Regions from separate parts of the Homo sapiens genome. Here region 2 is linked to region 1. The links are contacts of gene promoters, found by promoter capture Hi-C in human tissues and cell types (Jung and others, 2019). All regions are on one chromosome and are shown on one strand. Each heading gives the region's core, a stretch centred on a gene start or on the middle of the fragment in contact. The rest is flanking DNA. Distances are from core to core; before and after follow the strand shown.

Region 1 (7,629 bases), core at 1,962-4,461:
AGTGCACAGCCCTGAGAGGTTACATGGCCTGCCCGAGATCACATAGTCAATGGCAGAGTAAAGAGCATAGCCTAGGCCTCCCCACTCCTCTAGTAATGCTCTTTCATCTTCTCCAACCTGGCTCTAAGCCTTGTCCATCCTGAGCCCCATATCTAGCCCAACCTAGTCCCTGAAAACAGGAAGTGGCCCTTAGAAATCTCTCTCCAGTCCCACCATCAGAGGCCAACTGCTGTCTTCCACTCTCCTTCAGCCTGTGCTCCTCTCCCTCCCTGCCTCACAGTGCCCTAAGTTTCATCTCTTGCCGACTGCTTTAATACATCACAGTGACATTGTGTGTGTCTCTGCCACAAGACTGTTGCTCCTTGATGCTCTGGGTCACCTGCATCTAGCATGGCATATATCTGGTGCTCAATAAATGTGTATTGTATAGAATTGACTGAACTTCTCTCACTGGCAGCCCCCTCTATCCAAGTCACCTACCTCTTTTCGAAGGTGGGTGATGATCTTGTGTGGAACTGAGATGACCTCTCCATGACTGGTCCGAAGGGCAGGCAGAGTTCCTGATATTGAGAGGGAAGTATACCAACCAGACCCTTAGCTGCCTAGTCATACATAGTTGCAACACATTCCTGCCTATTTCTTGCTTCTCCCCTTGTACACACCCTTCCTTACCCCCAAGGGATACTGGGTACCTGAAGGGCTCTGCCAGGGGTTGCTGATCTTGTGTACCTTCAGTGGAGCACCAGTAAATCTGGCATAGGTCTGCAGGGAAGGAAGCAGAAGTCAGAGAGGCAGAGCCATGTCCCCCACAGTGGTATCAAGAAGAGAAATAACATTTATTGAATACCTTATGTGCCATTCCCTATACTTAGTATCTTAGTCTCGAAAAAAAAGGGGGAGTCACTACCATTTCTATTTTACAAATGGACAACACAGGGCTCAGAGAGATTCCGGACATGTCTGTGATTACAGGACAGCCAGGAAAATCCTTTCCTCTATCTCCTCTCTTGCCATCTACCTGGTGAACATCTATCCTCAGAAGCTTTTCCTAACCAGTATCCCTCTTCTTGGAAGCACTGATAATGCCCTTCTCTTTGGCAGTATCTGTGGTCTGTTCCTACTTTAACTTATATGTGAATATTTTATTATATTTATTTGCTTACCTATCTGCCTTTCTGTAAACTCGAAGGGAGGAACCAAATTTTATTCATCTTTGCCTGGCAATGTTTAATATTTGGAAGAAATCTAATAGATCCTCTTTAAAGCAAGGAGTCAATGAATAAATGAAGCAAAGGAAGTCTGATTGCTAAGCTCTTTATACAAAGCCTGGCTGTGAGTCGTTTGGTCTAACAAACAATAGCCTCAGTAAATGCTGTTAAGTGAGGAGGAAGAGGAGAAGGGGGCTGAGGAGAAGGCAGGAATTCCAAGCTAGAGTAGGTCCCTGAGACAGTCCAGCCTAGTAAACCTCCGAATGGAGAAAAAAAATGCCCAAAGAGAAAGGATCTCCGCAAGGTCACACAGCCAGTGAATGGATGAGCAAGGACTAGAACCCATCACCTGAACTCCCAACCAGGCGTCTTTTCATTGCTGCATTAAGCCTAGAAAACTACAGCATAGGGCACTGAGGCCATATCGGCCACGTACGCTCTTTGACTGCCTCAGTTTCCCCCACTGCGCCCGTGCTGAGTAGCCCTGGCAAGGTTTGGATGCTTGGCTAGTTCGGCCCCCTCCCCAGTCATCAGGGCACAGCAGAGGGCGCCGGCGCCACCCCTCACCAGCACGGCCAGGCTGTCCAGGTCCACTGACGGCAGCCCCCAGCCCCCTGACCAGCAGAACAGCTCCATGGGCGCCGCCATCTTGCCCACCCTCTGTCCCGGAAACACTTCCTTGTGTGCTTCTGCCCTCCCCTGCCTGGGCCCGCCCCCCGCCACCGCCCCTCCGATCGTTGCGGTCAGGGGGCCTGGGGAGATCCCCGGGGAGGCGAGGCTTCTTCTGGCCCGACTGGCAGCTGAACTGCGGGGGACTGGGCCGCGGGCCTCGGGGGAGGGCGGCCGCCGGCCCATCCAGAGGTGGCCCACGTAGCGGGACAGCGCTGTCGGCCCGGCGCGCCTCGGAGAGTCACGGCGCCTCGTCCAAGTGGAGCCCCGAACCCCTGAAGGCGCGGCAGGCTCTGGAGAGCGGGGTCTTGTGCGCCTGGGCCAGGTCTGGGGGCTCTTGCCAAACTGCACGTGGCCTGTACTGCTCCAGGGCCCCTTGGGGCTCGTCCCCGAGCGGGGACTGCGGGGGGGTCCCCCGAGCAGCATGTTTTCCACAGCGCGTTATGTTTGGAGCGGGCCCTGCGCCGCCTGTCGCCATGGAAACAAAACAGGGGCGGTGGCGGCGGCCGGAGCGGAGGCCGGGCTGGGGCTTGGGTGGGGGAGGGGAAGAGAGGCTCGCAGGCTGTCGCTTAGGTGACGGGAACTCAGGCGCCCCTCTGCTTCATCCGGGTCACGGCCCGTCCGCTAGTACCCACAGTGTTCCACAGTCTGGTCCTTGGCTCCTCGCCTGTACCCCTGGTCTTCTGCGCCTGTCCCTGGTGTCCCTTTCCTCTTTTTTGGTTTCTTCACTCTGACCTCACTGACCACTGCTTTAGATTCTCCCTTCAGTTCCCGTCAGACGCTTCCAGACTCCCAAGCTTTCCTACGAATGAGGGAAAATGGAGAAACAGGCACTTGTCAGGGGACCCCCCACCCTAATAAAGAGCACTTGCTCCGCCAGAACAGCAAAATTCATGCCATGTGGGCATCCCTGGGCACTATAGCAAGCTAGTTGCGGCCACTCCCTTGGCATCCTTTCCTGCCAGCTGTGGAATAATGCCCACTGTCTAGCACTGCCCCTGCCAGGGGTTCTTGCCTTCCACAATCGTGGCTTCCAGAAAACAGTGGCATTCGGTAGCGCTGTGTGCCGAGACCCCCAACAATGATGACTGCGGAGAGGGAGGCACCTGGGGGAGGATCATTAGGGAGAGGTAGAAAGCAGGGAGGCCTCCAGGATTCTTTCCCAGTGCCCCTGGTTCCCAGAGCTGATGATGCCTCCAGGGTGATTGGCAGCTCTTTGTTTCAGCCCCCCCTCACCCGCCTGCTGGCCCCCCCTCCAATTCTGTCCCTCCGCCCCCCGGCTCCTGCTCTCTCCGCCTAGCCTTTTCCCCTCCCAGCTGCCTGCCTGCCAGGGGTAGTGAGCCGGCTGAGAGGCATGGAGACGCAGGAACTTCGGGGGGCCCTGGCTCTTCTCCTCCTTTGCTTTTTCACATCTGCCAGTCAGGATCTGCAGGGTAAGCCTGTCTCCATCCTCTTAGACCGCTCTCTGCTTCTTCCCCATTTGCCCTCAGCCCAAGTAGCAGAGAACATGTGGGCAAGGGGAGAGGGGAAGAGTCCAGAAATTGAGCCAGAGGAAAACTTAAGACTGCCTAGAGTTGGTGAAATTATGGCCTGGTGGAGAGGAGTGGGCACCGGAGAGTAGTGGGGGAGCTGGAACAGGACAGGGTCAGGCATGAGGCCAGGGCAGAGGACTCAGGAACTGGATGCTCAGGCTGCCTGGCTGGGGTGGTTCCTGAGCATCTGTAGGCACCCTAGGGTCTGGGAGAGCAGCCTGAAGGTGGGCGTACTGTAGGTCCCTGGGCTTCGTCCCCCTGGGCTCCTGGCTGCCCAAGGACAGGGCGGGGGTGGGGACCAAGAAGCCTGGGCTCTCCCGGAGGTCTGGTGGTGGGATGGGCCGATGGATGTGGGAGAGGTAGCTGGAGCAGATGACACAGGCATAGATTCTTTACTGGCTGGAGGGAAAACCACAGATTGGCCAGGACACAGGAGGCAGAGGAGCTGGGTCCTACATTCCCGTGGGAGATAGCCCAGATGGTGGGAGGGTTAGAGTCCTCAGTGGGCAGCTGTTCTTATCCAGAGCGAGTGTGCTGCGCCCCTAGGATGGGAGGAGGGGAACTAGGGTGTGGAACGAGCCAAACCCAGGAGTGGAAAGAGAAGCTGCCTTCCATTTCTACGTTGTGGACACCAGGTGCCACTCCTGTGGGGGATCAGCACAGCATCTCCTTTGCGCCACCTGGTGGGGGCATCTCAAATTTGTGGGGTGCTGTTTCTGTGTTTCCAAGTGAGTCTCAAACCTGCAGGTTCCTGGAAGGTAGTAATAGGCAATAATGGGGAAAGGAAGGCACAGTGCCTCTGTCCTCTGAGAGCAACAAGGGTTGAGGTTTTTTTTTGTTTTCGTTTTGTCTTTTTGAGATGGAGTTTCACTCTTGTTGCCCAGGCTGGAGTGCAATGGCGCGATCTCGGCTCACTGCAACCTCCACCTCTCAGGTTCAAGCGAGTCTCCTGCCTCAGCCTCCTGAGTAGCTGGGATTACAGGTGCCCGCCACCACGCCCGGCTAGGTGGTTTTTTTTTCTTTTTTGTTGTTGTTTTTGTATTTTTAGTAGACACGGGGTTTCACCGTGTTGGCCAGGCTGGTCTCGAACTCCTGACCTTAGGCGATCCACCTGCCTCAACCTCCCAAGGTGTTGGGATTACAGGTGCGAGCCACCATGCCCAGCCAAGGGTTGAATTTTGAGGTGACTAACGCTGCCTGGTGGTGGGGGTAGGGGGTGATGTGGGCTCGGGGGAGGGCATACCTTAGCATTTGATCCCATTCTCTAACCTTGATAACCCCTGCCTGACCAGTAATTGACCTGCTGACTGTGGGCGAGTCTCGGCAGATGGTAGCTGTGGCAGAGAAGATCCGGACAGCCTTGCTCACTGCTGGGGACATCTACCTCTTATCCACCTTCCGCCTGCCCCCCAAGCAGGGTGGTGTCCTCTTTGGCCTCTATTCTCGCCAAGACAACACTCGATGGCTGGAGGCCTCTGTTGTAGGCAAGATCAACAAAGGTGACTGGTGGGCATCTCCTTTCTTGCAATGGTGACCTCCTTAAGCACTCTCCCTCATCCCTACTTCCCAAGTGCTTCCTCATTCTCCTTGGCCTCCACTAGGGACCAAGGTCCCATCAGGCTGTGCCCAGACATCAGGGGCACCTGGTATGGGGTGCTTATAAGGTGCTTTAGGAGCCCATGTACCAAACAATAGGGTGAGGCTTGAGTCCTGATATTTATAGGGATGGGAGGTTGTACTTGGGGATGCCTGGAAGGAGGGTGAGGCATGTCTCTGTGCCTCAGCGGTGATACAGAAAGGTCTTTCAGATCCCTGGAACAGGTCAGTGGCCACAAAACCAGCTGTCACCCTAGGAGAGGATACAGTCATCTGATACCAATGAAGACTAAGAAAGTATTTGTCTCTAAACCAATTATTTTTTTAAATGGAGTCTTGCTTTGTCACCTAGGCTGGAGTGCAGTGGTACAATCTCAGCTCACTGCAACCTCTGCCTCCTGGGTTCAAGCAATTCTCCTATCTCAGCCTCCTGAGTAGCTGGGACTACAGGTGCCCACCACCATGCCTGGCTAACTTTTGTATTTTTAGTAGAAACAGGGTTTCGCCATGTTGACCAGGCTGTTCTCGAACTTCTGACCTCAAGTGATCTGCCCACCTTGGCCTTCTAAAGTGCTGGGATTACAGGTGTGAGCCACCGTGCCTGGCCTCTAAAGCAATTTCAAAAACATTTATTGTGTACCTATTAAATACAAGGTGTTGAGAGCCACATAGTAGAATTAGGGATAGGGGCCCTAGAGATGTGGTATCTAGCAGAGTTGATCCAAGGCTCAGCTGGGAGGCAGGGGGTGGGGGATAGCGCCCATACTGATCTCCCCTCCTGGGCAGTACTGGTGCGATACCAGCGGGAGGATGGCAAAGTCCACGCCGTGAACCTACAGCAAGCGGGCCTGGCTGATGGGCGCACACACACAGTTCTCCTGCGACTCCGAGGTCCCTCCAGACCCAGCCCTGCCCTACATCTCTACGTGGACTGCAAACTGGGTGACCAACATGCAGGCCTTCCAGCACTGGCCCCCATTCCTCCAGCGGAGGTCGATGGGCTGGAGATTAGGACTGGACAGAAGGCGTATTTGAGGATGCAGGTGAGCCGGGAGGAGCCTCTGAGTTCTGTGGAAATAGAGTTTGCACCAGCTGGGGAAGGGGTTGGTAGACCTTCCCACCTTACTCTGCTGCTATCCCCCCAGGGCTTTGTGGAATCTATGAAAATTATTCTGGGTGGGTCCATGGCCCGGGTAGGAGCCCTGAGTGAGTGTCCATTCCAAGGGGACGAGTCCATCCACAGTGCAGGTAACACAGAGACTTGTTTGCTGACATTGGACCACGGATCCTGTGGCCTTTGGTGACTCCTGTCTTCTTGATCTCCCTCTCCCTTAAAACCCATTCCTTTGGCTCACCTGTTCCTAGGGTTTCTAACCCTGTTATTCCAAATCTTTCACCTGACTCCACAATCTCCAATACACCCATCCGAGAAAAAAAGTGATCTAAGAGAAGAATTGGTTAATTGCTTGGCCTTGGCTGACCAAGAGATACTGGTCTCGAGTATTTTTTTTTTTTTTGGTGATGGAGTCTTGTCCTGTTGCCCAGGCCGGAGTGCAGTGGTGCAATCTGGGTCACTGCAGTCTCCACTGAGTTCAAGTGATTCTCCTGCCTCAGCCTCCCAAGCAGCTGGGATTACAGGCGCCCTCCACCATGCCTAGCTAATTTTTGCATTTTTAGTAGAGATGGGATTTCACCACGTTGGCCAGGCTGGTCTCAAACACCTAATCTCAAGTGATGCACCCACCTCGGCCTCTCAAAGTGCTGGGATTACAGGCGTAAGCCACCGCGCCCGGCCTGGTCTCGAGTCTTTTATAGTTCTCACTGGCAGCTGTCACCAGCAATTTCTCTGAGTGTTGCCCATCTGCCTGGTCTCTCTGACAGGGATGTTCAGAAGCTCTCACCTAAATAAAAGACCCACCTTTCCCAGATATTTGAGGGAGAGCTCTTGAAGAAGGGAATGGGATGGCGGGTGTGGTGGCTCACACCTGTAATCCCAGCACTTTGGGAGGCTGAGGTGGGCTGATCCCTCAAGGTCCGGAGTTCAAGACCAGCCTGGCCAACACTGTGAAACCTCCTCTCTACTAAAAAATACAAAAAATTAGCTGGGCATGGTGGTGGGCACCTGTAGTCCCAGCTACTTGGGAGGCGGAGGCAGGAGAGTTGCTTGAACCCAGGAGGTGGAGGTTGTGGTGAGCAGAGATCACGCCACTGCATTCCAGCCTGGGAAACAGAGCAAGACTCCGACTCAAAAAAAAAAAAAATGGGGATATACTGGGGCCCTGGCCCTGCTTTGGGTCCATCCCTTCTGCCACTACCATGCCTAGGAACCAGGAGGATTTGGGTTCTAACTTCCTGTGAAGCAACTCCCTTAGAGGGCCTTTTGCCCCATAGAAGGAGCTGGCACTGCTTGTCTGCCAGCTCTGCCCTCCCAGCATCCAGCACCCCATCTTTATTCTGGGGCTCCAGCCCTGTCCCTGTCCTCACCTTCCTTCCTCCTTCTCACCAACCAGGCCTCTCTTCACTTCACCTCACCCCTCTGACTATGTTTTCTTCTCCTCTCCAGTGACCAATGCACTGCACTCCATTCTAGGTGAGTAGGCCACACTGAAGCGGAAGCGGGGAGC
Region 2 (7,629 bases), core at 2,006-4,505, 93 kb after region 1:
GTAATCCTAGCACTTTAGGAGGCCGGGTGGGCAGATCACCTGAGGTCAGGAGTTTCAGACCAACCTGGCCAACATAGTGAAACCCCAGCTCTACTAAAAATACAAAAATTAGTTGGGCGTGGTGGCGCGTGTCTGTGGTCCCAGCTACTACTCAGGAGGCTGAGTCAGGAGAATATGGCTTGAACCCGGGAGGTGGAGGTTGCAGTGAGCCAAGATTGCACCACTGCACTCCAACCTGGGCGACAGAGCAAGACTCAGTCTCAAAAAAAAAAAAGAACTCAGGTGGGGTACATTTGATGGGGCTTGGATCTACACCATGCTATTCCTTCTACGCCCCACTTGCCTGGCTCTCCTGGGGATAAAGGAGATATGGCACCAAGTGCTATATCTGTATCTGCTGGGAGCAAATGGGGGGAGTCAGTAGAGAAGGTAAAGGAAAGAGCTAGAGAGGGGGCTGGGTGTGGGACAGTCTCAGAGGGAACCTGAGGCGGTTTGTGGGACAGGCTCTGAGATGCAGTCCCCCAGGGCTTAAGCTCACCCTGGCCCGTCCCTGCAGGCAGGTGGGAGATGGCCAGATAATGGACAGCTCATTTGTTTGTATAACAGGTGCTCTGCCTAAGTGCCGCAAGCCACATCCAATAAAGGCAGCTGGTGAACAGGGAGACAGTGCAGAGAGGGGTGGGGTCGGGGGCCCAGCTGTGGAAACTTGGGAAAGTTACCTAACCTCTCTGAGCCTCACCTTTTCTTCATCATAAAATGGGGTCAAGACTACTTTCTCTATGCAATTATTATTATTATTATTATTATTATTATTATTATTATTATTAATTTATTTACTTTGAGATGGAGTTTTACTCTTATTGCCCAGGCTGGAGTGCAATGGCGCGATCTCAGCTCACCGCAACCTCCGCCTCCCGGGTTCAAGTGATTCTCCTGCCTCAGCCTCCGGAGTAGCTGGGATTACAGATGCCTGCCACCACGCCCCATTAATTTTTTTTTTTTTTTTTTTTGAGACAGAGTCTGACTGTCACCCAGGCTGGAGTGCAGTGGTGTGATCTCGGCTCACTGTAAGCTCTGCCTCCAGGGTTCATGCCATTCTCTTGCCTCTGCCTCCCAAGCAGCTGGGACTACAGGTGCCCGCCACAATGCCCAGCTAATTTTTTTTTTTTTTTTGTATTTTTAGTAGAGATGGGGTTTCACTGTGTTAGCCAGGATGGTCTCGATCTCCTGACCTCGTGACCCGCCCGACTCAGCCTCCCAAAGTGCTGGGATTACAGGCGTGAGCCATTGCGCCTGGCCTCCATGCAATTATTGCAGGGATCGAATGAAATAATAGATGTGCGGGCCTGGCACTTAGCCTGGGGAGTGGGTTGTGCATAAGCACGGGGTGAATTTCCCCTCGCATGGTTCCCGCACAGGCAGAAGGGGGCAAACGTGCTGATAGTGAGGGTAAGGATACAGGGAAGTGGGGAGGAGTCCCAGGATCACGAATGGGATGGGTATGTGGTAAATGCCCTAGGATGAGGTGGCCAAGAGTGCTGAGGTTCTGTGAGGGCAGAGTGATGAGTGGGGGAAGTGACTTTTGAGGGTTCTCGGGTGAGGTTGGTGGGCAAGGGCATTCCATGCCCAAAGGAATCCTATGGGCCACACTGCCCTGCCCCTGCATGGGCGAGGGGAAGGTGACAGGGAAGATCTGTCCCCCAGAGCTCCTTCTTCCCTCCTTCCTGGTCCTTTTTCCTCCCCTGGCTCCACTGTAGTCTCCCCCACCCTCCCCTGCTCTCCTTCTTCCTCTTGGCTCTGGCATCATCAAGTCCTCCAACCTTGGCCGGGCACTGTTTGGTCTGAGTTTCGTCTTAAACAGGAGTAGGACTTGATTAAGTAATGGTGGGGGGAGGGTACAAAAAGCACTGAAGAGACAGAGTTTGGGCAGGGGGAATAGGGAGGAGGCCAGGAACCACCCAGAGAGGTAGGGCAGGAGAAAACAGATAGCTGGAATGCCAGGTGGAAAGCAGTAAATTCCTTGGGGGTGGCACACCGCACTGTGGCACTCAAAAAAGAGCTCCTCTCCTGGCACAAATCCCCATGTCTGGGGAGGTGTTGGGCGTCCTAGGGGAGGTCCTTTGGAGACTGGGCTTATCAGGAAATTGGTTTTAAATGGGCTGAGGGCATACCAGATTGGGCTGGAGAAGGGCTCTTGGGCAAACCCAGGTTGGCTTCAGAAGCAAGCTGAGGGGGTTGTATTTAATTGGGAAGTTGCCCTGGGAATAGTCACAGCATCAGCTCATGTTTATAGAACATGTTCCTTATTCCAGGCTCATTTGAAGCACTTTGTGTACATTAATGCACTTAATCTTCACAGTCACCATAAGAGGTAGGTAGAATTATTATCTTTATTTTATTTTATTTTATTTTATTTTTTTGAGATAGGATCTCACTTTGTCGCCCAGGCTGGAGTGCAGTGGCACCATCATAGCTCACTACAGCCTCGACCTCCTGGTTCAAGTGAGCCTTTCCCTCAGCCTCTTGAGTAGCTTTGACTGCAGGTGCACGCCACCACCACCCACCTAATTTTCGTATTTTTAGTAGAGACGGGTTTTCCTCATGTTGGCCAGGCTGGTCTCGAACTCCTGACCTTAAGTGATCCACCTGTCTCAGCCTCCCAGTGTACTGGGATTACAGGTGTGAGCCACCATACCCGGCCTATAGAGCTGTTCTCTTTCTTCTGGGATGACTGAGGTGATGAGATGGCAGTCGAAGACTATATTTTGCCTCCCTGACAAATACACTTGGCCTCCCTGCAGGCATTGCATTTGCAAGCCAGTTCTTCATCCTCACACATGACAATTCCAGGGCCTTAAATCCCAATCCCATGTTCTCTCTCCACTTCTCTATCTCAAAGCACTATTCCCAGGCTCTAATTTACAACTTCTCAATCCATTTTTCACCATGTTGGCCAGGGTGGTCTCGAACCCCTGACCTTAAGTGATCTGCCCACCTCGGCCTCCCAAAGTGCTGGGATTACAGGTGTGAGCACTTTAAATTTAACTTGCTGAAATAGAGCTCCTTGTCATTTCTTCAAAACACAGGTCTGCTCCTGATTTCCTTGGCTTGTTTATGGTTTGAGTGGGATCACCCCATCTCCCAGGTGCCGTAGCGGGCAATATCCTGAGACTGGCCAGTCCCAGCACAGCAGCCCCAGGCCACAGGGATTGGTTTGGGAAAGGGAATGTAGTCTAAGACAGGATAAACGGGAATCTCCAAAAAAATTGAGGGGAATGGAAGCTGGGCAAGCAAACAGGCAGATTTAACTAGAAGAGCCTGGTAGCTTGAGGTTGCAGAAAGGAGGGAAGGATGTTTTTAAGGGATGGGGAAACCCAGGCCCAGTTGTTGATAAAGAGGAAAGAATTCATGAGAGTCTATGCCCAGATTAACTGCCACTTCCCCAGGCCTCACCTAGGTGAAAAGCTTAGTACTCAGGAGGCTGAGGCGGGAGGGTCCACTAGAGACCAGGGGTCTGAGTGCACTCCAGCCTGGGCAACAGAGTGAGGGCCCTGTCTTTATTTATTTATTTTTTTTTTTGAGACAGAGTCTTGCTCTTGTTGCTCAGGCTGGAGTGCCGTGGCGGGATCTCGGCTCACTGCAACCTCTACTTCCCGGGTTCAAGTGATTCTCCTACCTCAGCCTCCCAAGTAGGTGGGTTTACAGGCGTCTGCCACCACGCCCATATAATTTTTGTATTCTTAGTAGAGATGGGGTTTCACCTTGCTGGCCATGCTGGTCTCGAACACCTGATTTCAAGTGATCCACCCGCCTCAGCCTCCCAAAATGCTGGGATTACAGATGTGAGCCACTGCACCTGGCCTCAAGAGCCTGTCTTTAAAAAGAAAAAAAAAAAAAGTTTGGGCTTTGGAGAGAGATTGCAAAGATTTGAATCCCAGCTCCATCACTTATTTGGATATGACCCTGGGCCAATCACATCTGTGCCTGTTTCCTAATTTATGAAATAAGGATGATAATAATAGTGCCCACCCTTTGGATCATGATGAGGATGAAATGAGATAATGTATGTAAAGTACTTAGAACGGCTGGCCTGTTTGGCATATAGAAAAACCTCAGGATTAATATTAATATTGTTATTATTTTTTTCTTTTTTGAAATGGAGTCTTGCTCTGTCACCCAGGCTGGAGTGCAATACTGCAATCTTGGCTCACTGCAACCTCCACCTCCTGGGTTCAAGTGTTTCTCCTGCCTCAGTCTCCTGAGTAGCTGGGATTACAGGCATGCACCACCACGCCTGGCTAATTTTTGTATTTTTAGTAGAGACGGGGTTTCACCATGTTGGTCAGGTTGGTCTTGAATTCCTGACCTTGTGATCCACCCATCTCGGCCTCCCAAAGTGCTGAAATTACAGGTGTGAGCCACCATGCCCAGCCAGGATTAGTATTATGACAGCAATTATTAGGATTTTTATTGTAGAAGGCTCACAGTGACAGTAACAAGTTTTAAGCCAACTGGCTCCTGCTTCTGCTTGCTGACATAGGACCTCCAGCCCCTTGCAAAGTCCCTCTGAAATATCACTGATGGTCCCCCTAGGGCATTTCACATGGGCTCAGAAACATGTTTGGGCTGGCTGAGTGCTGCAGCTGTTCTGGAGGGCTCAGTGTTTTCCTGCTGGTGGGGGTTGGGGCACTGGAAATCTCTCCTCTCCCTTGTCACCTCTGTTGGGGGTTCCCAAGAAAGGCGGCTTGTGCTTTCATGTGTTACAGATTGGCATGTCTGTTCTTCGATTTTTTTTTTCTTTTTAAGACGGACTCTCACTGTCACCCAGGCTGGAGTGCAGTGGTGAAATCTTGGCTTGCTGCATAGTCTGCCTCCCGGGTTCAAGTGATTCTCTTGCCTCAGCCTCCTGAGTATATGGGATTACAGGCGCATGCTACCATGCCTGGCTAATTTTTGTGTTTTTTTTGTTGTTGTTTTTGTTTGTTTGCTTGTTTTTTGTTGTTGTTGTTTGTTTTTTGTGATGGAATCTTGCTCTGTTGCCAGGATGGAGTGCAGTGGCGTGATCTCGGCTCACTGCAACCTCCGCCTCCTGGGTTCAAGCAATTCTCCTGCCTCAGCCTCCTGAGTAGCTAGGACGACAGGCGCACACCACCACACCCAGCAAATTTTTTGTGCTTTTAGTAGAGACGGGATTTCACCATGTTAGCCAGGATGGTCTTGATCTCCTGACCTCGTGATCTGCCTGCCTCAGCCTCCCAAAGTGTTGGGATTACAGGTGTGAGCCACTGCACACGGCCAATTTTTTGTATTTTAGTAGTGCCAGGGTTTCACCATCTTGGCCAGGATGGTCTCGAACTCCTGACCTCAAGTGATCCACCCACCTTGGCCTCCCAAAGTGCTGGAATTACAGGCATGAGCCACTTCACCTGGCCCAATTTTTTTTTAATCATCTGATTTTTAGATTCATCTTTAATTTTCATTCACAGTCACCTCTATCCACAGGGCCCTGACAGGCTTCCCTGGGGCTGGACTGAGGATGGATCTGCACACTTGCTGCCATGCTATGCTGCAGCGGGATTTCTTTTTTTTTTCTTTTTTCTTTTTTTTTTGAGACAGAGTCTCCCTCTGTTGCCCAGGCTTGAGTGCAGTGGTGCCATCTCAGCTCACTGCAAGCTCCGCCTCCAAGATTCAGGCCATTCTCCTGCCTCAGCCGCCCGAGTAGCTGGGATTACAGGCGCCCCCCACCACGCCCGGCTAATTTTTTGTATTTTTAGTAGAGACGGGGTTTCACCATGTTAGCCAGGATGGTCTCGATCCCCTGACCTCGTGATCCACCCGCCTTGGCCTCCCAAAGTGCTGGGATTACAGGCATGAGCCACCCCGCCCGGCCTGCAGCGGGATTTCTAGTCCTCTGAGGATGAGGGCTTTGCCACAGAGCCATTTGGGAGCTTCCTCAGCCCCTCCCGCAGGCAGCCACGCTCCTGTGAGGTGTTCCTCCTGGCTGTGGCAATTTCCGACTCCAGTGTGCACACAGCCATCACACTCCCCATAGATGGCCTGCCATGGCCCCTCCTGGGACAGCAGCCCAGGCGAGTCCTTCTGCAGAAAGCTTGGGCCAAGCAAAGGACCACCTGCCTAGGGTGAGGGCAGTCAAGGATAAGGGGGCGGGAGCTGAGGACACAGCCGTCAATTTACCACACTAGGTGGGGCTGGGCCCCTTGCACAGGTTAGGGGCGAGTCCTGTCTCCAACTCTGGGCTGTACTTAGTCACTAAATGTGCAGAGCCAGGCCCCCCAGGCCCCACGGCCCTCATCAAATCCATTCATCTGGCTCCTCCCCACACCCTTCCACAGGTCAAGAACACACCCAAGATCTTCCTTCCCTCTGCCTCATCACCATTTTTCTCCTGACAAACCTTTAAAAAAAGAAAAGAAAAAAAAAGGCCAGGCGCGGTGGCTCATGCCTGTAATCCCAGCACTTTGGGAGGCTGAGGTGGGCGGGTCACCTGAACTCAGGAGTTTGAGACTAGCCTGGCCAAAATGGTGAAACCCCGTCTCTACTAAAAATACAGAAAATTAGCTGGGTGTGGTGGCGGGCGCCTGTAATCCCAGTTACTGGGAAGCTGAGGCACAAGAATTGCTCGAACCCCAGAGGCAGAGGTTGCAGTGAGCTGTGATTGCACCACTGCACTCCAGCCTGGGTGACAGAGAGGAAAAAAAAAAAAGAAGAGAAAAATACAACAAACAAACATCAACAGCGGAAGTTAACTGGAGACCCCCGTTTGTGAACCAGTGAAAGGGACAATGGATGAGGAGGCTGGTGTGGTATCCTGAGGGCATCCTGTGGATAAGGCACCAGGCCAGGGGCTGGGGCCCTGAGGTTTCACTCCTCCCAGGTCTAGAGGGGTCCATCCTACCCCTGCTGCCAGAAGAGGGGCCTTTCCTCTGCCCCACAGCACCTGGGTCTAGGAACTGTCTGATTCACCGCCAGGAAACCCTCTCCTTGAGATGTTTCTTCATAGGTCATCCCAGAGCCTGCTAAATGCTTTTGCCCTAGGCTGGCTGTGTGGCTGGTGGTCTGTGGAATGAGGAAAGTGTCTCCTCTCCACTGGCTACTGGGAGAGCATATAAAATAAACATGATTTAAAAAGCCAGTGCCCACAGAAGACACAGACGAAATATTAAAAAATAAAAAAATAAGAAAAATAAAATAAAAATAAACAACCCCCCAGAAACCCCAGGTTCCCAAGCTGGGTGGGATGTGGAGTAAGCCAGTTTGCGGTGACATTTATATAAGGGGCTTGGTTCCTCCCTCAGGCAAGTCAAGCAAGTTGTAAAATTTGAGGGCACATTTTAAAATTGTTTAAAATCCTCCAAATGTGTTTCCTGTCTGGCACGGTGGATGGCGCGTTGGTAATACATGTGCATGTGTGGCCTGGAGGACGTGTTAACGACCAGGTTTAGAGGCAGAGATGCAGAAGAGCCTGCAAGAACCAGGAGCGAGAAAAGGGGTCTGTTGTTGTCATGGTGTGTGTTCCCCGTGTTGGAATGTGTGTAAGGGGCCTCTGGTCCTGTGAGGGTGGTTTAGTCTGGGAAATTAGCATCTTTTTTAAAGCTACTCTATTATAAA

The links. The method cuts DNA at HindIII sites, captures the fragments that hold promoters and counts their contacts. A contact is called where the count stands out against the background at its distance.
Region 2: a contact is called between a fragment that was not itself captured here and the fragment with the promoter of THBS3 in region 1, in 3 of the 25 tissues and cell types used here (IMR-90 fibroblasts, lymphoblastoid cells and thymus).

The regions. Positions count from the first base shown.
Region 1 is chr1:155,203,479-155,211,107 of GRCh38, reverse strand. It overlaps THBS3 (thrombospondin 3), which reads left to right and starts at 3,211. Exons shown (of 23, transcript NM_007112.5): 1 at 3,211-3,310; 2 at 4,702-4,908; 3 at 5,792-6,048; 4 at 6,151-6,253; 5 at 7,569-7,595. The coding sequence starts at 3,232. It overlaps MTX1 (metaxin 1), which reads right to left and starts at 2,413. Exons shown (of 8, transcript NM_002455.5): 1 at 1,776-2,413; 2 at 693-762; 3 at 481-560. The coding sequence starts at 2,303. It overlaps THBS3-AS1 (THBS3 antisense RNA 1), which reads right to left. Exons shown (of 6, transcript NR_183238.1): 6 at 5,619-6,073. RefSeq lists a silencer at 1,864-2,063 and an enhancer at 3,427-4,210. The HindIII fragment of the contact is 12,638 bases long and covers 1,859-7,629 here.
Region 2 is chr1:155,110,794-155,118,422 of GRCh38, reverse strand. No RefSeq gene overlaps it. Among named protein-coding and RNA genes, the nearest start is that of EFNA1, 13 kb to the left of the region's middle. The HindIII fragment of the contact is 7,406 bases long and covers 1-6,958 here.